Linked DNA regions of Homo sapiens: all the other regions are linked to region 5. The links are contacts of gene promoters, found by promoter capture Hi-C in blood cells and fetal thymus (Javierre and others, 2016). All regions are on one chromosome and are shown on one strand. The core of a region is centred on a gene start or on the middle of the fragment in contact, and the rest is flanking DNA. Distances in the headings are between cores, read along the strand shown.

What was found. The method cuts DNA at HindIII sites, captures the fragments that hold promoters and counts their contacts. A CHiCAGO score of 5 or more calls a contact.
Region 1: a contact is called between a fragment that was not itself captured here and the fragment with the promoter of SNX20 in region 5, in 8 of 17 cell types (total CD8 T cells, naive CD8 T cells, total CD4 T cells and 5 more). The highest score is 9.3, in total CD8 T cells.
Region 2: a contact is called between a fragment that was not itself captured here and the fragment with the promoter of SNX20 in region 5, in 1 of 17 cell types (activated CD4 T cells). The highest score is 5.1, in activated CD4 T cells.
Region 3: a fragment that was not itself captured here is called in contact with the fragment with the promoter of SNX20 in region 5 in 7 of 17 cell types (total CD8 T cells, activated CD4 T cells, non-activated CD4 T cells and 4 more); the score reaches 7.8 in total CD8 T cells.
Region 4: a fragment that was not itself captured here is called in contact with the fragment with the promoter of SNX20 in region 5 in 3 of 17 cell types (total CD8 T cells, total CD4 T cells and naive CD8 T cells); the score reaches 7.8 in total CD8 T cells.
Region 6: a fragment that was not itself captured here is called in contact with the fragment with the promoter of SNX20 in region 5 in 1 of 17 cell types (neutrophils); the score reaches 9.0 in neutrophils.

Annotation. Positions count from the first base shown.
Region 1 is chr16:50,083,185-50,086,439 of GRCh38, forward strand. It overlaps HEATR3 (HEAT repeat containing 3), which reads left to right. Exons shown (of 15, transcript NM_182922.4): 8 at 753-843; 9 at 950-1,107; 10 at 1,385-1,467; 11 at 3,031-3,167. Among named protein-coding and RNA genes, the nearest start is that of HEATR3-AS1, 18 kb to the left of the region's middle. The HindIII fragment of the contact is 2,772 bases long and covers 179-2,950 here.
Region 2 is chr16:50,137,027-50,140,589 of GRCh38, forward strand. No RefSeq gene overlaps it. Among named protein-coding and RNA genes, the nearest start is that of TENT4B, 14 kb to the right of the region's middle. The HindIII fragment of the contact is 2,454 bases long and covers 722-3,175 here.
Region 3 is chr16:50,153,835-50,157,249 of GRCh38, forward strand. TENT4B (terminal nucleotidyltransferase 4B) reads left to right here. Exons shown (of 12, transcript NM_001365324.3): 1 at 1-425. Among named protein-coding and RNA genes, the nearest start is that of TENT4B, 2.2 kb to the left of the region's middle. RefSeq lists silencers at 1-21, 142-311 and enhancers at 1,123-1,172, 2,032-2,091. The HindIII fragment of the contact is 434 bases long and covers 1,421-1,854 here.
Region 4 is chr16:50,119,787-50,123,429 of GRCh38, forward strand. No RefSeq gene overlaps it. Among named protein-coding and RNA genes, the nearest start is that of TENT4B, 32 kb to the right of the region's middle. RefSeq lists silencers at 1,680-1,769, 2,060-2,119 and an enhancer at 3,344-3,643. The HindIII fragment of the contact is 210 bases long and covers 1,685-1,894 here.
Region 5 is chr16:50,679,511-50,682,660 of GRCh38, forward strand. SNX20 (sorting nexin 20) reads right to left here and starts at 1,802. Exons shown (of 4, transcript NM_182854.4): 1 at 1,680-1,802. The HindIII fragment of the contact is 15,976 bases long and covers 1-3,150 here.
Region 6 is chr16:50,039,954-50,043,156 of GRCh38, forward strand. No RefSeq gene overlaps it. Among named protein-coding and RNA genes, the nearest start is that of CNEP1R1, 16 kb to the left of the region's middle. RefSeq lists a silencer at 91-291. The HindIII fragment of the contact is 9,784 bases long and covers 1-3,203 here.

The DNA of each region.
Region 1 (3,255 bases), core at 315-2,814, 600 kb before region 5:
TAGTAAAATATACATTATTTTTAGCTCATGTACTGTTTTGGAATATCAGTATGGTTATTTCACTTTCCATAGACAATTTGATAATTAAGGTTATATAAATTTATATTACCCATTTTAAGAAATGTTGGTTGATAATGTTAAGTTTAAGTTGGCGTTATATATTTTCAGAGAAAAAAAAAGCTTCCTTCTTTCTTTAGTCTTAGAGAAATGCTTTATTATAGTCTTTACAGAAAGGCAGGAAGCAAGTCTGTCTGCTCCATAGCAAGTTCTACAGGTCACATAAGGGCTCGTTAGTAGTGTGTGTTAGCGCAGCCATTCCAAGAAAGACATCTAAGCTAAGCATCTAAAAGCAGGTTTGGTGTTTCTAAGTGCCTGGTGTCTGAAATGAACTCTTGTTTAAATCTTAGTATGCCCAGCTACTTCTTGACACAGTAGATAAGTTTCAGGGTGAATTCTGTTCAGAATTCCTGAATATTTGTCTGTTCTCTCCAGCTAACTAAGTGACGCTTGGGGAATAGCCATGCAGATAGATGGAAACCCAGTTAACGGGGGCATGCTCCACTGTACCAAGAGGAATTATAATGCTCGTTTGTACTTCTGGCACTTCATGACTTTTCTTTTACCTACCCCATTCCCCGTGTGCTCTATTCCAAGCGCAAAAATCTTCTAGTAGGCTTTCACTAAGGAAATTCCCCAAAAACATTTTCCCAACCATTGAGAGTTGGTCATTTACTTTTTTTTTTTTTTTTAAGCCCACTGACAAGGAACTGAGAGAGACTATAGCATTGCTGACAGCCCAACAGACTGCTCTGGAAATTATTGTCAACATGTGCTGCAATGAAGGTTTGTTAACATTTACATTTAGACATTTTCCCCCTGAGCCAAGAGGGAAACTCCCGTGGAGATTTTCTTAACTATTCCAGTTCTGCGTGGTTTGCCCGCTTCCCAGATCCCTCTGATGACGAATGGGAAGAGCTTTCTAGCAGTGATGAAAGTGACGCATTTATGGAGAATTCCTTCAGTGAGTGCGGGGGACAGCTGTTTTCTCCCCTCTGCCTCTCCCATGAAGTTCACACGGCTCTCACCAACTACCTCATCCCAAAGAAGGTAATCCATTTTCATTCTAGGCTTACCGTGGAGCATGGGAAAGGCTTAAGCAAGGTATTCATTTTGTGTACAAAAGAAGCAAGCTCACACTTCCAGGTTGTAGATGGTGGTAAGATCTGAGACAAAGCTGAGCCTAACAGTACTGGAAATAGGCGAAAAGGTCATTCTATATGAAGCCTAACCATTTCACTTAGGAGTAATATGTTGGAATTATGTAAGGGAATCGTGTTAAATGACTACTCTTTAACCTTTGCTTTACTGCCTCTTTTAAATCTAGATTTTTGAGAAAACTGCCTTTCCAAACAGCATTGCAGTTGACCTATGTTCTAGGAACCCTACTTGGAAACCTTTGATTAGAAAGTAAGAACTCTTCTGCTTTCAAAAACATTTGTCATTATTTTATTTTATGAAATGATGGGCTATTAAATAGAAGGTGCTGACTCCCCCTAGGACCCAGAAGTTTTGTTCCTGGGTATATATACCAGAAAAATATGTGCCCACATGCCCTAGAATACATGTATATGAGAGTGTTCATAGCAGTGTGTGTCACAGTTGCCCCAACCCATAAACAAACGTGTTGTCCATCAGAGTTAGAATGGTAAATAAATTTTGACAAAATCACGCAGTACAATACATGCAGCAGTAAAAGGGATCTGAATTAGAGCTACTCACAACTCGGATGGAACTTACATTGTTGAACCAAAAAAGCGAGACATAAAAGAATACACACACTGTGATTCAGTTTTTACAAAGTTGAGAAACAGGCAACATTGAACTATTTTGTTCAGGGATGCATACCTTGGTGATAAACCTATTAAAAAAAAAAAGAGGCAAGGAAATGTTTACCATAGAAGTCTGTATGGTGCTTACCTGTAGGTGTCAGGGAGGTGGGATATTATATGGAAGAGATACAGGGGCTTTCAGGGTCCAGCAGTGTTAATTTCTTTCCCAGGTGCATGGGTTTTGGTTTCATAGACTGTTTGTTAAACTCTCTATGTATGTTGTGTACTTAACTGTATATATGTCACATTTCACAATTAAAAATAATTTTAGGCTGGGCATGGTGGCTCACACCTATAATCCCAGGACTCTGGGAGGCCAAGGTAGGAGGATCACTTGAGGCCAGGAGTTTGAAACCAGCCTGGGCAGCATAGCAAGACCCCATCTCTACAAAGGAAAAAAAAATACAAAAATTAGCCTGGCATAGTGGCACTCAGCTGTAGTCCTAGCTACTTAGGAGGCTGAAGTGGGAGGATTGCTTGAGCTCAGCAGTCTAAGGCTGTAGTGAGCTATGATGGTGACACTGTACTCCAGCCTGGGAAACAGAATGAGACCCTGTCTGAAGAAAATTATAATTTTAAGGATGCTACCCTACATAGAAATTTTTCTAAAACATATTCCTCATGACTCATGAATGAGTTGTGTATCAGAGGCCGTGAATATTCAAGCAGTTTGATTTGGCAGATTAACAGTTCACCTTATAATTCTAGCACTTTGGAAGGTACAGGCAGGAGGATTGTTTGAGGCCAAGAGTTCCAGAGCAGCCTGGGCAACATAGCAAGACCCCTATCTACAAAAAATAAAAAACTTAGCCAGGTGTGGTTGCATGCACATGTAATCCTGCTCCTTAGGAGGCTGAGGCAGGAGGATCACTTGTGCTCAGGAGGTTGAGGCTACAGCGAGCTGTGATCACACCACTGCACTCCAGCCTGGGCAACAGAGTAAGACCCTGTCTAAAAAATGATGATAAATTTTAGAAAACACAAAAAACAGTTCACCTTGTGATTCTTTGCTAACTGCCATAGATACCTTGTATTTACAGATATTTCCAGTCAGAACGTGAAGCTTAGGCTAAAAGTTAATACTGAATTCTGATGGGCAACTTCTGGAGAATCAGATGGCATTGTTTCACTTCCTTTCCAGAATGAACACTATTCAGTGCAGAGCCCTCTTCTGTCTCCAGAGTCTTGTGTCCCTCCTGGATGTGGAGCACCTGGGAGGAGCCGCAGCCCTTCAGACGCTTGCACAGCATCTGTCACAGCTGCTTTTTTCTCAACCAGGTATTTAGACTTTATTGCGAAAGACTACGCAGACGGAACAGAATTTTGAAGGGGCAGGAATTTGGATTTTGTAAATGTATATTGTTTG
Region 2 (3,563 bases), core at 699-3,198, 540 kb before region 5:
CAAGAATACAAAAATTAGCCAGGCGTGGTGGTGGGCACCTGTAATCCCAGCTACTGCACTCCAGCCTGGGCAACAGAGTGAGACTCTGTCTCAAAAGCAAAAACAAAAACAAAACAAAACACACACACACAAAGATAGATTTTTAGGAGTACTGGGGTTATTCTTCAACAGGTCCAGGTATCCCCTTCATTCAAGTGGTCCTGGGTCAGTAAAGTGGCTGATGTCCAGCAATTCACTGAGGGGTTATGAATCAATTTTTATGATACATGTTAAACTTTTGTTCATCTGACCTAGAAATTTTCTGCATATACAGATCAAGTAAGAAAATATTTCACTTCTAGGAACACCCTGATAAACTTGCCAATGCCAAAGGTCTTCATGAGTCAGACTATTCTGATTGCTGCCTTGATTCTGCTGTTCATCATGGCAACCACACCCCCCTTGCCTCTGTTGGTTGAGTCCCAAAACTTGGAACCTGCCACTCTGGGCAGGGGTGGGATCCAATGACTCCCATTGCATTTAGGCTTCCCGATTCTGTGAGTGCAGTTTCCATCGAAAGGCCAGGCCTACAGAGTAGGGTGATCACAGAGCTCTCCAAGGATGTGCTCCCCTCATGATGTTATGTTTCACGGTACTAGTGAAAGGTGTGTCTTTTGAACCTTCCCAGTGTGGGTGAATAGGCCTTAAATGACAAATTCACTCTAGCATGCCAATCTCCCTAAGCTTCTGAATTCCTTTCCCTACATAAAACCAAGGCAGGTACGGCATTTCCAATTTGCTCACCATGGACCAGGTTTTGGTCCATGTTTTCCATGTTTGAGCCAACCAACTGAAGTGTTAGAGCTTTTTCTTTTCTTTCCTTTTTTTTTCCCCCAAGACAGAGTCTTGCTCTGTCACCCAGACTGGAGTGCAGTGGCTCGATCTCAGCTCACTGCAACCTCTGCCTCCTGAGTTCAAGCAGTTCTCCTGCCTCAGCCTCCCGAGTAGCTGGGATTACAGGTGCCCGCCACCACATCTGGCTAATTTTTGTATTCTTGGTAGAGACAGGGTTTCACCATGTTGGCCAGACTGGTCTCGAACTCTTGACCTCATGATCTGCCCTCCTCAGCCTCCCAAACTGCTGGGATTACAGGCGTGAGCCACCTTGCCTGGCCTTTTTGTTTGTTTGTTTGTTTTTTGACAGGGTCTCACTCTATCAGCCAGGCCAGAGTATGGCTCACTGCAGCCTCGACCTCCCAGGCTCAAATGGTCCTCCTACCTCAGCCTCCTGAGTAGCTTGGACTACAGGAACACACCATCATGCCTGGCTGGCTTTTTTTTTGAGATGGAGTCTCACTCTGTCACCCAGGCTGGAGTGCAATGGCACGATCTTGGCTCACTGCAACCTCTACCTCCCGGGTTCAAGTGATTCTCCCACTTCAGTCTCCTGAGTAGCTGGGACTACAGGTGCATATCAGCATGCCCAGCTAATTTTCATATTTTTAGTACAGATGGGGTTTCACTATATTGGCCAGAGTGGTCTCAAACTCGTGACCTCAAGTGATCTGCCCACCTCAGCCTCCCAAAGTGCTGGGGTTACAGGCATGAGCAACTGTGCCCAGCAAGTAATTTATAAATTACACTTTACCATAGGTATGTGTATATAGAAAAAAGCATAGTATATGTAGGGTTCGGTACTAACCACAGTTTCAGTCTTCCACTGGGGGTCTTGGAACATATTCCCTTAGGCTAAGAGGGGACTACTCTACTTGAGTTTTCTAATTTATATGGACAGAAATGGGAGAGCATGTGTGAGAATGGATACTAAGGGTATGCGATGATGGTGGAAAGAACATAAGGTTGGGTCAGGCTAAATTAATTGATTTGGGCCCACTAAGCAGAGATTCTGCCTTTAATTCTTCAGTTTAGGGAGTTAGAAAGGCTCTACGACAGGTGTGGTGGCTCAAGCCTGTAATCCCAGGATGCTGGGAGGCTGAGAAGACAGGATCCCTTGAGCCCAGGACTTTGAGACCAGCCTGGGCAACATAGCAAGACCTTGACTGCACTAAAAAAAAAAAAAAATTAGGCCAGGCATGGTGGCTTGAGCCTGTAATCCCAGCACTTTGGGAGGCCAAGGCAGGCAGATCACCTGAGGTCGGGAGTTTGAGACCAGCTGGTGCAACATGGCAAAACTCTGTCTCTCCTAAAAAAAAAAAAAAAAAAAAAAAAAAATTAGCCAGGCGTGGTGGTGTGTGCCTGTAGTCCCAGCTACTCAGGAGGCTGAGACAGGAGAATCACTTGAACCCAGGAGGTGGAGGTTGCAGTGAGCTAAGATTGTGCCACTGCACTCCAGCCGGGTGACAGAGTGACACTCTGTCTCAAAAACAAACAAACAAACAAACAAAAATTAGGCACCGGAAGAGATTAACAATAACTAATAATAAAATAGAACAATTATAACAACATGCTGTAATGAAAGTTGTCAGTCACTGTAGTCTAACTTGCAATTTGAGGTGTGACAGCAAAACTAGCATGAATTTCATTACTTTTTCCTTCTTCACAGTTTCACAGATAAAAGATTTGTTCTTACTATAGATCTTAGCAACCTCAACATATGAGTTTTTTTCTTTCCTTATTAAGTTGAGCACTTTCACCTCCTTACTTAGAAGAAGTACTTGACAGCTTTTCTTTGGCATATCTGAATTGCCAGCATCACTACTCTTACTTTGGGGCTACTATTGAGTGAAATAAAAGCCACTTGCACACAAACACTGTGATACCATGACAGTCAATCTGATAACTGAGACAGCTACTAAGTGAAAATGAGTGAATAGCATACACAGTGCAGGTATGCTGGACAGAGGGATGATTCGCACCCTGGGTGGGATGGTGTAAGTTTTTTTTTTAATTTATTGTGTTATTTTATTTATATTCTTTATTTCTTTTAAACAACCCTAAGTCCATTTAGCAATGACACGATATTTTATCACACTACTCAGAACAACACGCAATTGAAATTATGAGTTGGTTGGGCATAGTGATTCATGCCTATAATTCCAGCGTTTTGGAAGGCCAAGGTGGGAGGCACCATTGAGGCTAAGAGTTCAAGACCAACGTGGACAACACAGTGAGACCACCATCTCTACAAAAACAAAACAAAACAAAACAAAACGATACAAAACAAAAAAATTGGCCAAGCTTGGTGGTGCACACCCGTAGTCCCAGCTAACTTGGGAGGCAAGATGGGAAGATGGATTGAGCCCAGGAGTTCAAGGCTGCAGTGAGCTATGATCACACCACTGTACTCAAGCCTGAGTGGAGAGCAAGACCCTATCTGTCTCAATAACAAAAGAAAACAAAACAAAACAAAAACAGAAAAAAAAGTATGAGTTGCTTACTTCTGGAATTTTCCACTTAATACTTTTGAATCATGGTTGACTGTGGGTAACTGAAACTGTGGAAAGCAAAGCCATGGATTGGGGGGACTGCTGTAGTTCTTTTGGAGCATCGCATCCCTCCTCTTGGGTCACACTTTGTACTTCGCCTTAGGGACCTACTGGTACTTGGGTCTAGTTACAGGTCTA
Region 3 (3,415 bases), core at 388-2,887, 530 kb before region 5:
GCGGCCTCGGCCCCGGCCCCGGCCCCGGCCGGCATGTATCGCTCCGGGGAGCGCCTGCTGGGCAGCCACGCGCTGCCCGCGGAGCAGCGGGACTTCCTGCCCCTAGAGACGACCAACAACAACAACAACCACCACCAGCCCGGGGCCTGGGCCCGCCGGGCGGGCTCCTCGGCGTCCTCGCCTCCCTCGGCGTCCTCGTCCCCGCACCCTTCGGCCGCCGTCCCCGCCGCCGATCCAGCCGATTCGGCCTCGGGCAGCAGCAACAAGAGGAAGCGCGACAACAAGGCCAGCACGTATGGACTCAACTACAGCCTGCTGCAGCCCAGCGGAGGGCGGGCCGCGGGGGGCGGCCGAGCAGACGGCGGCGGGGTCGTGTACAGCGGGACCCCGTGGAAACGGAGGAACTACAACCAGGGAGTCGTGGGGTGAGTGCTGGCTCTGCGGCCCGATGGCCTGGCCGGTGCGAATGCGCAGCCGGGCACACGCCCACAGAGGGGGGTTGTGAGGGTCTAGGAGCGGCCACCCCCACGGCCTGCCTTCGCTGCTGTTGCACGGGGGTGCTGCTGGCCATCCCCAACCCCCCAGTCGTTCACACCTTTCCCCAAGCCTCCTTAGCCGTCCACACCCTCCGTCTCCTGTCCTCCCTTAGTCGTCCACACCTTCCTCCCCTCCCTCTTAACCGTCCACACCTTCCCCAGGCCCCCCCCTTTATCCATTCACTCTCCTCCCATCCCCCTTAGTTAAACACATCTACCCTTGACCACCACCCCGCCTCCAGCCCTCCACACCTTTTTCCCCATCATCACAACTCAAGATGAGACCGCTTAGCACGGGCCTATCATTCATTCCCTGAGAACATTGGTGTGTGAGTGTTTTTTGATGGTGCAGGACCCGGAGGTGCTTTCCTTGCCAAGAATAGAAACATCCAGAATGCTCCTCCCCATCCCCCAATCCCAGACAGCAATTATGTCAGCCCTGTAAGGCATTGCCTGCTCTTGACCCTTTGGCCCATCTTTTTATTTTTAAAAAATTCCCATGTCACAGATGCCCTGTCTATGCAGAGGGTGGCGTGGGATGGGTGACCACTAAGTTTAGGCTGGTGAAGGTGGTGAGCCCTTCTGAGGCCCTGATAGAACTTTCCAGGAGTTCATGGTCCGCGGCTCCAGCTTCTCACTGTAAAGTTGTCATCCTGGCAGAGGCAGCCAATGCTTTTCATTCTAGGGGGTAGAGATTTATGCTAATGAGTGAATATTGCACCACTAGTGACTTTCTGTTTAAAGTTCAGCTCTTAGAAAATGGAATCTTACCTGACCCCTAGTGAATTATGTACATAAGCAGGGAATGTTTCCAACTAGATCTCCCTTCAGAAGAGTCCCTGTGCTGGAATAGGTCACTGAATCTTATTTGTTTTGTAAAACAAAGCTTTTGGGTCTCGTGGGTGTGTGTGTGTGTGTGTGTGTGTGTGTGTGTGTGTGTGTAGCTTGAGTATGGAGAACCGGCTTTCAAATTGCTTTTCATTTTTCAGGTTGTGTTTTACATTGAGGGCTTTAGCATGCAAATGAAATTACCAATTAGTAATCCCATGTGAACCTTTTCCTGGATTTATTCATTCAGATCTGCCCTGCTTTGGCTGAGAGAGAGAGTTCTGTGTACCTTTTTGAAGGTCTGGATAAAATGAGTTGGTGGGTTCCATCTGCTTCCAGTGGGCTGGTGTCTGCTCTATGCTACTATTACAACTCCTACCTTTTGTGGAAAATGCAGTCAAGCGTTCTAGGACTGGTGCTGTGGTACATGTCAAACCTGCCCTCACATTCCAGAAAGGGAACCCTTTTAGGGTTGAGTCCTCTGTTGCTAAGCTTCAAGGGTGCTCTCCATGGTCATCACGTTTTATTAAAGGCTTGTGGTTCCATCCTGTTAGCATTTCCAAGTCTACGCGTAAACCTGTGGTTTAGTGACAAGCAAATTGATGTTGAGGGTTTCTGGTAGTTTCATTTCACAGGAGTAAGCTCCAGTTAGGTAATCACTGTCAACGAAAACCTTGAAGTTCCTTAATTGCATTTTACTGAAGCCTCTTTGCATGTGTCTAGCAAAAGATATAAGTCCAAGATGCTTATTTTTTTTTTGATAAATTAGAAATTGTCCTCTCCTCTACTTGCTATTTAATGCAGAAGATACTCTAAAAGGTTCATATTTATACTTAGAAGCAAGATGTTCTTGTTCCTGATTCAAATATATTGCCCTCAAAGGGATTAGGAGAGGAATTTTCATTTCCCGGAGGGATTACTGTTTAAAAACTGGTTGTAAACCTCTTTAAAAACTGCTTATCACTTCACCAGATTTTCCATTCTTTTGCCTCCTCCCTTAGAGGATGTCAGCAGTTAATTTTTTTTTTAAATTAAAAAAAGTTCAATTCTGAGACCTCCTAGTTTCAAAAAATACATTAAACAATTCCCAAGAGTGTTAAGAGTGTCTGGGTGCTTAGAAATTCTTGCTTTGATTCATGTATTCTGATTTTTTTTTTTTTTTTGAGACGGAGTTTCGCTCTTGTTGCCCAGGCTGGAGTGCAGTGGCTCGATCTCAGCTCACCGCAACCTCTGCCTCCCAGGTTCAAGCGATTCTGCTGCCTCAGCCTCCCGAGTAGCTGGGATTACAGGCGCTTGCCACCACGCCTGGCTAATTTTTTATTTTTAGTAGAGACGGGGTTTCTTCATGTTGGTCAGGCTGGTCTCGAACTCCTGACCTCAGGTGATCTGCCCGTCTTGGCCTCCCAAAGGACTGGGATTACAGGCATGAGCCACCGTGCCCGGCCTCATTATCCTGATTTCTTTTTTTTCTTTTGAGACTGGGTCTCACTCTGCTGCCTAGGCTGGAGTGGAGTGACGTGATCATAGCTCACTGTATCCTCTAACTCTTGGGCTCAAGTGATCCTCCTGCCTTAGCTTCCTGGAGTAGCTGGGACTACAGGCACATGTCACCACACCTGCCTAATTTTTTTATTTTTACTTTTTGTAGAGATGGGGCCTCCATTTGTTGCCTAGGCTGGTCTTCAACCGGCCTCAAGCAGTCCTCCCACCTTGGCCTCACAGAGTGCTGGGATTATAGGCATGAGCCACCATTCTCGCCAGTATCCTTATTTCTTAACTTTAGAAAGTTTTTCTATTTTTAATATAGGTATTTAAAAAAATCTGAATTCAGAGTGCACCTCGATGTTATGCTGTTCTGAGATTAAATATACTAAAACTGTTACCATTGTTTTCTGAATTCTTAAGATGTGACTGATAGTTAGCTAATAGGTTAACACATTGTGGTGGTTCTTGGCCTCTGAACTGATAGTCCAGATGGGGAGAGGAGACCAGAAAGCATGTGAAAATGGACTAGAACCATGGGACAGCTATATAGTCTCTCGCAGCTGTCT
Region 4 (3,643 bases), core at 540-3,039, 560 kb before region 5:
GGAAATATGTTGAGAAAGAAAGAAAAAGAAAGAAAGAAAGAAAGAAAGAAAGAAAGAAAGAAAGAAAGAAAAAGAAAGAAAGAAAAAGAAAGAAAGAAAAAGGAAAGGGAAGGAAGGAAGGAAAGAAGGAAGGAAATATGTTGAGATAGATCCTTCCTGATCATTCTTCTTTCCTCCTTCTCATCACTTGGGAATCTGAGGATGTGGCACCAGGATTCTCTGCTCCAGGAACACCAATTTCCCCACTTGAGTTACCCATCCTTTGTGTCTCTTCTCCAGGAGCTCGCACTCCAACCAATTAAGAAAAGATTTGGCTACAATGACACATTGGCTGGAAGACACACCCACAAACCCATGGACCACCGGACTGTGAGTAACAGTCCTTACTTATGCCTCCTTGCACCCCAGTGTTAAATATTGGTAGAATGAATAAATGAATGAATGAATGAAAGGCAAAGACAGCTATTTAGTCAAGTACCCAGATATTTCTTGAAAAGGATGTTATTGTGGCCAAGAGGCTGTGTGCCACCTTATTTATTTATGTATGTCACCCAGACTGGAATGCAGTGGTGCAATAATAGCTCACTGCAGCCTCTAACTCCTGGCCTCAAGTGATCCTTCCAGCTTGACCTCCCAAAGCTCTGGGATTACCAGGTGTGAGCTTTGCCTGGCCTAAGCATAACTTTTGATCTTCATAGGATCCAAAGTCATGAACTTGTAGCCACGTTGACAACTTGTCCGGCTTGAACAGATTGAATAATCAAGCAGACGTAGCCATAGTGTCACCTGTGAGAAACTGCAATATTTTATAGCTGCTTTGTTTGTTTTTTTGAGATGGAGTTTCACTATGTTGCCCAGGGTGGTCTTGAACTTCCTGGACTCAAGCAATCCTCTCGCCTCAGCCTCCTGAGTGGCTGGAACTATAGGGACTCACCACTGTGCTAGGCAAAATTGTAATGTCTTACAGACACATACACACACACAAAAAAAACTAATTATGATTTAAAAAGCTAGACAGAGATAATATCTTATAACTCAAGGTTTTTCAGCCATCAACACATAGATGTTGATTAATCATTCAACATTAATTATGGTTGTGTTTTTCAGGTCCTGTTTTAGAACTTTGAACAGGTCAATAATCTTGTATTGCTGTGGTCACAGTCCCTTGCTAATTACTGAAGGTAAATAAGATGTGATCACAAGAAACAGTCCACTCACTGTGTCTCACATATTCTCTATAGCCCTAAGAGAAATGACTTCCATTATATTTTAAGTTGGTTATATTGGCTAGTTTCTTTCTTTTTTCTTTTTTTTTTTGGAGATGGAGTCTTGCTCTGTCGCCCAGGCTGGAGTGCAGTAGCACGATCTTGGCTCACTGCAACCTCCTCCTCCCAGGTTCAAGCAATTCTCCAGCCTCAGCCTCCTGAGTAGCTGAGATTATAGGTGCCCACCACCACACCTGGCTAACTTTTGTATTTTTAGTAGAGACAGGGTTTCACCATGTTGTCCAGGCTGGTCTCGTTCTCCTGACCTCAAGTGATCCATCTGCCTTGGCCTCCCAAAGTGCTGGGGTTACAGGTGTGAGTCATCGCACCCAGCTATATTGGCTAGTTTCAAAACAGATCAGGGGCTATCCATTTGAAACCGTCCCACTAACATGATATGACAAGGTTTGTAAGTGATAAGCTTGGCAGCTTCGATTTCTGGCACAAGGTGTGTGGCCTCCCAGAGCTCTAGCCTGTCCTCTCTGACTCAGTTTTTCTTGCTCTGTAATGGGTTCTGTCCATTTGTCAGCCTGCAGATTTTCAGCTGGATTTTTTTTTCATGTCAGCCAAATAAATACAGAAATTGCTCCCCCCACCCTGATTATAATCATTTTGGCCACATTTTTCAAAGCTTACTCTTAGACCATCCCAAAACTCCAGGGTAACTCCATATTATTATTCAAATTTTTTCTCAAATTAAATGTCTGTTAGGCTGGTTACACAATCACAATAAGGGAAAAGCTTGGCCCTTTCATTTTGCATTTTACCTCAGAGAAGGTCCTTGTGGCTTGACTTTGCACATTACTGGAAACAGAATTTGCCTTTCTGCTCCTTTGTGAGGTAGTCAAAGCACGATGTGCATGTGGTTCCAAACACATTTAATTCTGTAGCTATTCTTTTGTTGAAGGCGCTCACCACAAAACATCCTGGAGGGGGATTACGGGGCAGGTGCAACAGACAAGGGTGTTTCCCGGATGGGGAAGGCAGAGCGCCAAGTAAAGGAGTAAGTGCTGAAGAAGGGATTTTACTTGAAATTGGAAGTCATAGGAGCTATTTGGTTTTGGGGGTGCATGTTTAAGTGATACATTTATAGATTAAAAACGAAATTCAGGCCATGTGCTGTGGCTCACACCTGTAATCCAGTACCTGCAGAGCCCCTCCTGCCTTGGCCTCCCCCAGAAAAACAAAGAATTTCAGAGTCAATAGCACGTTATGTTTTGACTACATCACAAAGAAGCAGAAAAGGGCCAGGCACCGTGTCTCACGCCTGTAGTCCCAGCACTTTAGGAGGCTGAGGCAGGCCGATCTTTTGCGTTCAGGAGCTCAAGACCAGCCTGGCCAACGTGGTGAAACCTCGTCTCTACTGAAAATACAAAAAAATTAATCGGGCATGGTGGCATGCACCTGTAGTCCCAGATACTTAGGATGCTGAGACAGGAGGATAGTTCGAACCCAAGAGACAGAGGTTGCAGTGGGTTGAGGTTGTGCCACTGTACTCCAGCCTGGGTGACAGAGTGAGTCTCCATCTCAAAAAAAACCCCCAAAACAAACAAATGACAACAACAAAAGCAGCAGAAAGGTAAATTCTTATTTTCCTCTTTTAAAAAAATTTCCTTTGTTTTAGGAATTCTTTTTCCAGACATGTGTCAAGCCAAGCCATGAGGGCCTTTTCCAAGGTAAAATGCAAAACAAGCGGGCCAAGCTTTTCCCTTATTTTTCCCTCCTTGCCTAGGAGTTTGAGACCAGCCTGGGCAACAGAGCAAGACCTCGTCCCTACAAAAAAATGAAAAAAAAGAAAACAAAAACAAAAACAAGTGGCTGGGTGCAGTGGCTCATGCCTGTAATCCCAGCACTTTGGGAAGCCGAGGTGGGCAGATCACGAGGTCAGGAGATCGAGACCATCCTGGCTAACACGGTGAAACCCCATCTCTACTAAAAATACAAAAACAATTAGCCAGGCATGGTGGCAGGCGCCTGTAGTCCCAGCTACTTGGGAGGCTGAGGCAGGAGAATGGCGTGAACCCAGGAGGTGGAGCTTGCAGTGAGCCGAGATGGTGCCACTGCACTCCAGCCTGGGCGAAAGAGCGAGACTCCGTCTCAAAAAAACAACAAAAAAAAGTAGCTGGATGTGGTGGTGCTTGCCTGTAGTCCCAGCTACTCAAGAGGCTGAGGTGGGAGGATTGCCTGGGTCCAGGAATTGGAGGCTGCTGTGAGCCATGATCACACCATTGCAGATCCAGCCTGGGTGACAGAGCGAGACCCTGTCTCAAATAAATAAATAAATAAATAACAGTTCAGAAGAGTATAAAGTGAAAGTCTCAATTTTTCATGGATTTCTTATGCTCTAGTTTTCCTCCCCTGGTCTTCTGTTACTTCCA
Region 5 (3,150 bases), core at 552-3,051:
AGAGGCACGGAGCAGGGGCCTGGCTGGCCCAGGGCTGCACGTTCTTGAGCATGCCGTCACGGGCACCTCTCGCTTGTCTCTTGTGCCTGTCAGGGAGTCAGGAGACATCGCCTTCCATCCTGACCAACCGTGTGTCCTTAAGCAAGTGCTTTAATATCTCTAGGCTTCAGTTTCCCTACCTGATAAATGTGGCTACAAGCCCCGTCCTGTTGATAAGATGATGGATGACTAGGGGTGGGTTCCCTACATTCTGACTGGTGCCTAAGTGAGACAGTGGATGGTTTACGTGATTCTTGGTGGCTGGGATTCTTGGGGGCCCAGGGCACTCCTATGCTCAGCACTTCTGTAAAATGGGTGATGGCGAGTGGCCTTGGCCTCAGGGGCCCCAGCCTTTGCAGATCTGCTTTCATGACCAGGCAGCTGGCTCCAGGTCAGAAGCAGGGCACTATTGGCCCAGAGACCCTGTAAGACCCTAGAAATGATGCCTCGGCTTGACACTCCAGTAAAGACTGAGAAAGCTGATTATAAAACCAGGCCTTAGAATAAAATCAAATTCAGCAGCCACAGTCAGCTCCCTTATGGTTGTCTCTTACAGGTTTCATTGGGAGTCACCCATTTAAAGAGGAGGGGGAAGGAAAGAGTTGTGCACTGGTGTATCCATGGGGCCTTGGGTAGCTTCCCATCCCTCTCCAGGCCTCAGTTTCCTCATCTGTGAAATGGGAAAGCAATCCTGTCACTCTAAAAGCTCTCTGGGGATAGCCACATAGACGGTTCCATGGCCCTTTCCTTCCCTCTCCTCACCCTCTGTAGCAAAGATTTCTTGACTTTATAACAAAATACTAAAAGTGTTGTTGCTGTTGGCCTGGGGGCCTGTAGTTGGCCCAGGGGACAGAGCAGCTTCCCAGCCTCCTCTGCCTTCCAGCCGTGTGTGCACAGACAGTCATTCTCCTCCTCCTGTCCCCAGGTGTCCTAACCACCCCCTCTCCAAGAGCTGACTGCCAAGTCCAGTCCTTCTTCTGCTGGGCACACAGAGGCCACACTATCTTTCTGAGGGCCTGCGGAGGACTTTTCATGGGGGATGAGCCTCTAGGGGGTGAAATAAAGCACATGGCCCACGCTGGGAGACAGAGATCCCAGGATGTTGGATGTGTGGCTGCCTCTCTTGGGGAAAGGGTGGGTACCCTCCAACAACTGGACGCTCACCTGAGAAGCCTTGCCAAAGCCAGGGGCTCCCAACCCAGTGTGTGTAAGAATCCCCTGGTGGGGTGGGGGTGGGATCCCAGGGGCTTGTCCAAGAGCAGGTTTCCTGGCTGCTAACATAGGAAGGTGCCATTGAACAGGCCTGGATTCTGCATTTTCCATGAGTCCTCTAAGGCTGTGCTGAGGCAGGGGTTCCCTGACACTGTTCTTTTGAGAAACACAGGTGTGGTGACTTATTCTCCAGGCCCAAGATGGGTTGTACAAGCGCCTAGCATTTCAAAAGGAATGGAGGTGATGGAAGGTCCAGGAGCTGTCCCTTCCTCTGCCTCAGTGTGCTAAGGAGAGCTCCAGACACAGTGGCTGTCACTAACTCTTCCCCCTCCCACCCTGCCCCCAGCAGGTGCCAGGCAGGGCCCCAGGAGAAGGGGACTCAGGCCACAGCAGGCAGAGGACAGCTGAGCTTGGGATCAAATACTGACCTCCAGTCTCCAGGGCTGTGTGTGTCCAGGGGTCCGGGAGGAGTGTCATATGGCCCCTTCGAGCTCTTGGTTCTCAGCTCCGGCGACAAGCCGAGGGGCTGCCACTTTCTAAGTTCCCCGTTTGAAAACAGGAAACAGGCTGTGTGACCTGCTTCTGATCGCCCCAGCCCATTGGCTGGTGAAACATGGTATATTGAACTCAACTGCCAGCCTGCCAGCTGTACCCACCTCTTCTTCCGGGTAGCGCAGGGAAGGGCAAGGCGGTGTGGGGCCAGCCCTGTGGGATTTAGCTCAGCCTCACTTTCCCTGCCGCCTTGCAGAGGTCTGGCTGTCCTTCGAGTCCCCGTTGATCTCTGGAATTCAGGCATTAGCTCCCAGAGCCCTTTAACATTCATTATTCTACTCTATGAGCTAGGCATGATGGGGGCCGTCATGCCCCTTGAACAGATGGGAAAACCGAGGCTTGGATCACAGAGCTGGTGGGACACAGAGCCAGTGACTGACATAGAAGAGCAGTGGGGTAGAATTACAGTTCCATCTGGTGCCTTTTCTCTGAGCAAAGCTGTATCCATCACCACCAACAGAAAGTCCCAGGGAAGCGAAACCCCAGGGCAGTGTGGTGTGATTCATGCCCACCCATCTTTGTGGCCTTGAAGGCAAGAAACAGAAATCAGACAAAAAAAAAAAAAATAGAACTTTGCTGGCTCGCCCAGAAGTTTGCCATGTGTTTTTTTTTGAGCCATGATTCCCTTCCTCCCTATTAGAGGCAGTCACAGTCCTGATTCAGATGGGGGTTACTTCTTGGCTTTTCCTTAGAAATTTACCACCTATGAGATCCCCAAACAATTCAGTTTCATTTTACTCATCTGTGAATCTTATATAAATTGAACCATGCATACTGTGTGTATTCTCCAGTGCCTTGCTTCTTTCATGCAACATTTATGGGTATAAGATTCACTGATGCATTTCTGTGTAGATACTTTTTTTCATTTCCATTGTTGTGTTGCTACATTATTATTATTATTTATTTTACTTTAAGTTCTGGGATACCAGTGTAGAACCTGCAGGTTTGTTACATAGGTATATATGTGCCGTGGTGGTTTGCTGTACCTATCAACCCATCATCTAGGTTTTAAGCCCTGCATGCATTAGGTATTTGTCTTAATGCTCTCCTTCCCCCTGGCCCCCACCCCTGACAGGCCCCAGCGTGTGATGTTCCCCTCCCTGTGTCCATGTGTTCTCACTGTTCAACTCCCACTTATGAGTGAGAACATGCTGTGTTTGGTTTTCTGTTGCTTCATTATTTAAATACATCACCATTTGTCATTTTTTGTTTTGTCTTTTGATGCACACTTGGGTTGTTCCTAGGGTGGCCATCATGATCAATGCCACTGATGATATTCTTACACATTTATCCAAGTCCATGTACTTATCTGAGGTGAAATTGCTGGGTCTCAGAGTATAGATAGCT
Region 6 (3,203 bases), core at 568-3,067, 640 kb before region 5:
AAGAAGAAGCAATTGAGCATAAAGCCTACCACCAGCACCACTTCTTCCATCATATTTAGCCTGTTACAGAAATAAAAGTTCCATGATCACCAATATTTGGGAACTACTACATCCTCCTCCTGGAGATTGTTCATGCTGTAAAGCATATTAAAAGCTCCATGTTGGCTGGGCACGATGGCTAATGCCTGTAATCCCAGCTGCTTGGGAAGCCAAGGCAGGCAGATCGCTTGAGCTCCGGAGGCCGGGGCTGCAGTGAGCTATGATTGTACCACTGCATTCCATCCTGAGCGACAGCGTGACACTCTGCCTCAAACGAATGAATGAATGCATGCATGAATGTCCCGAGTGGCCCTGCAGTAGAGAAACCTGTTAAACTGCCTGCTTTTCTGCCATTTCACCAAAGACTTGTTCACATTATTTGGGGGACAGAGAGTGTTTGTTGTGGTTTCTGTCTGTCCAGTTGCTCTTTTTTAATTGGAGAAGAGGCATGCAAATGTATTGAACATCCCACAGAGAGAATCACAGAGTGGTTGCCTTGCCCAGCTCCCTCTGAGCACCCGTGCTAGATTTGGGGAATGCTGGCTATGTCAGTCCATCCTCTCTCAGGACAACCCAGAAAACTTTGGACTCCTGCATTTGGGACCCAGGCATGCGAGGAGGTGGTAAAGCTGTGTTTCCGTGGCAGGGCACTCAGTGGGACTCAGTGGTGGTGGCATCAGTTTCCTCATCCGACCAGTTCCGTAAGATGGGTTTGGGCATTTTTTTTCTTCTGGAACTTTAGCCTTGAACCAGTCTCTCTAGACCACTCCAAAATCCTGAAGTACCCAATATCCTTTAAATAATTGGCTTTCAGTTTACTCAAAGTCAGCTTCTCTTGCTTGCTTGACTGCTAGAGTGGTACACAGCAGTTGTGTTCCAGGAGCATGCTGTGGAGAGTTGATCTAACAGATGAGAGTGCTTCCAATCAAGCCTCATGCCATCTGGCAGGTAAGAGAGCTCAGGGCCACGTGCAGTGGAAGGACCCAGACTTGGCAGATCAATGTGGATTACAGTCCCATTTCCTCCATTAGCCAGTGGGGCAAGTGACTTATTCTCTCTGAACCTTAATTTCATTTAGGCCTATTAGATAGCTATCTTGCAGAATAGCTAGAAGGATGAAATGAAATAATGTATGTAAAAGATAGCTTTCCAGCTTTTTTTTTAAAATCACAAACTAATTTTTGAGTCGCTATTCTGAGTACTTGTTATAGGTGTATCTTGAGTACCCAAGAGTGCTGGCATCTATGGAAGATGCTCAATTGCTGTTGAACAAATGGATGAATCTTGACTTTGGTATTGAAACTGAGTTTTTATATAAATACGTAAATACACTAAAACATAAATTTTATTTATTTATTTATTTTCAGTTGGGGTCTTGCTCTGTCACCCAGGCTGCCGTGCAGTGGCACAATCATGGCTCACTGCAGCCTCCAACTCCTGGGATCAAGCAATCCTCACACCTCAGCCTCCCAAAGTGCTGGGATTACAGGCTCTCACCATTCCTAGCTAACTTTTTAATTTTTTGTAGCGACAGGGTCTCACTTTGTTGCCTAAGCTGGTCTTGAACTCCTGAGCTCAAGTGATCGTCCCACTTTGGCCTCAGATTTGTAATTTAAGTAACGGTAGAGAAACTAAAATAACTAAGTCTATTGTAAGTTCATTAAGTAAATTAAAAAAGAAATATATCCTTGCTAGAAGATGAGTTTTAAATTCTGTCTCCTACAATTATCAGATTTATTTTTTTTCCTGACCTACCCTGAAAACCATTTAAAAACAAATTGTTCTGGAATGTTTTAAACACATGCAAACATAGAGAGAGTGGTATAATGAACTCCCATCACCCAACTTGAGCAATTATCAACATATAGCCAATCTTGTTTCTTATACAGGTTCAGAATCCTTTATCCAAAATGCTTAGGACAAGAAGTGTTTCAGATTTCACATTTTGGAATATTTGCTTTATGTTTACAGGTTGAGCATTCCAACTCCAAAACTCTCTAATCTGAGTGCTGCAAAACAAGCATTTCCTTTAAGTGTCCGGTTAGCACTCAAAACATTTTGGGCCAGGCATGGTGGCTCATGGCTGTAATCCCAGCACTTTGGGAGGCCGAGGCAAGCGGATCACCTGAAGTCAGGAGTTCAAGACCAGCCTGGCCAACATGGCAAAACCCCGTCTCTACTAAAAATACAAAAATTAGCCAGGCGTGGTGGCAGGTGCCTGTAATCCCAGCTACTTGGGAGGCTGAGGAAGGAGAATCACTTGAACCTGGGAGGCAGAGGTTGCAGTGAGCTGAGATTGTGCCACTGCACTCCAGCCTGGGCGACAGAGTGGACTCTGTCTCAAAACAAAAACGTTTTGAATTTTGGAGCTTTTCAGATTTTCGATTTTCAGTTTTGAGATGCTCAGCCTACCCTATTTCAACTTGCTCCCTCACCCCCACAAAGGATTATTTTGAAGCAAATCACAGACATCACTTGATATAGAAATCTTCCAGTAACTATCTCCAAAAGTTAAGAAAAATTTTACATATAACTACAATACTATATCATACCTGAAACGCTAATAATTTTGTAGCAATTTTATACCAAATATTCTGCTTAAACTCCTCCAACTGTCCCATAAATGTATCCTTTAGAGTTGGGTTATTTGAATTGAGATCCAGAAAAGGATACTTGAATAGTAGCAATTGCACAACCTAGGACCTAGGTTTCTGAAATCCCTGTTTCTGAATTCTATCTGATTACATATGTGAACTCAATTTATGCATATGGAATACACTTTCAATAAATGACATACAGTTAGTGGATGGATGGGTACAGACATTTTTTTTAAAAAAAGGAGAGAGATAACAAAATGACGTACAGTGACTTCTGCTGAGATCTTCCACAATAAACCAGCAGCATTATCATGGTGAACATCACTACCATCTCTTCACGTGCTAACAGCCACATGGGAAATGGGACTCCAGCATGCAAGGCACAACGCATCCTTAGAGAGCACCCAGTCCCGATGACAGCATGGGGTTAGGAAGGAGACCATGAGGAAGAAAGTGGAATGGGTATGTTTAAATGTATGCAGCGATAGACAAAGATGTTGGACATTAGGGGAAAAATAATGACAAATTGATGGAAAACCAGGATAAGAAAAAAAAGGCGATTACTAA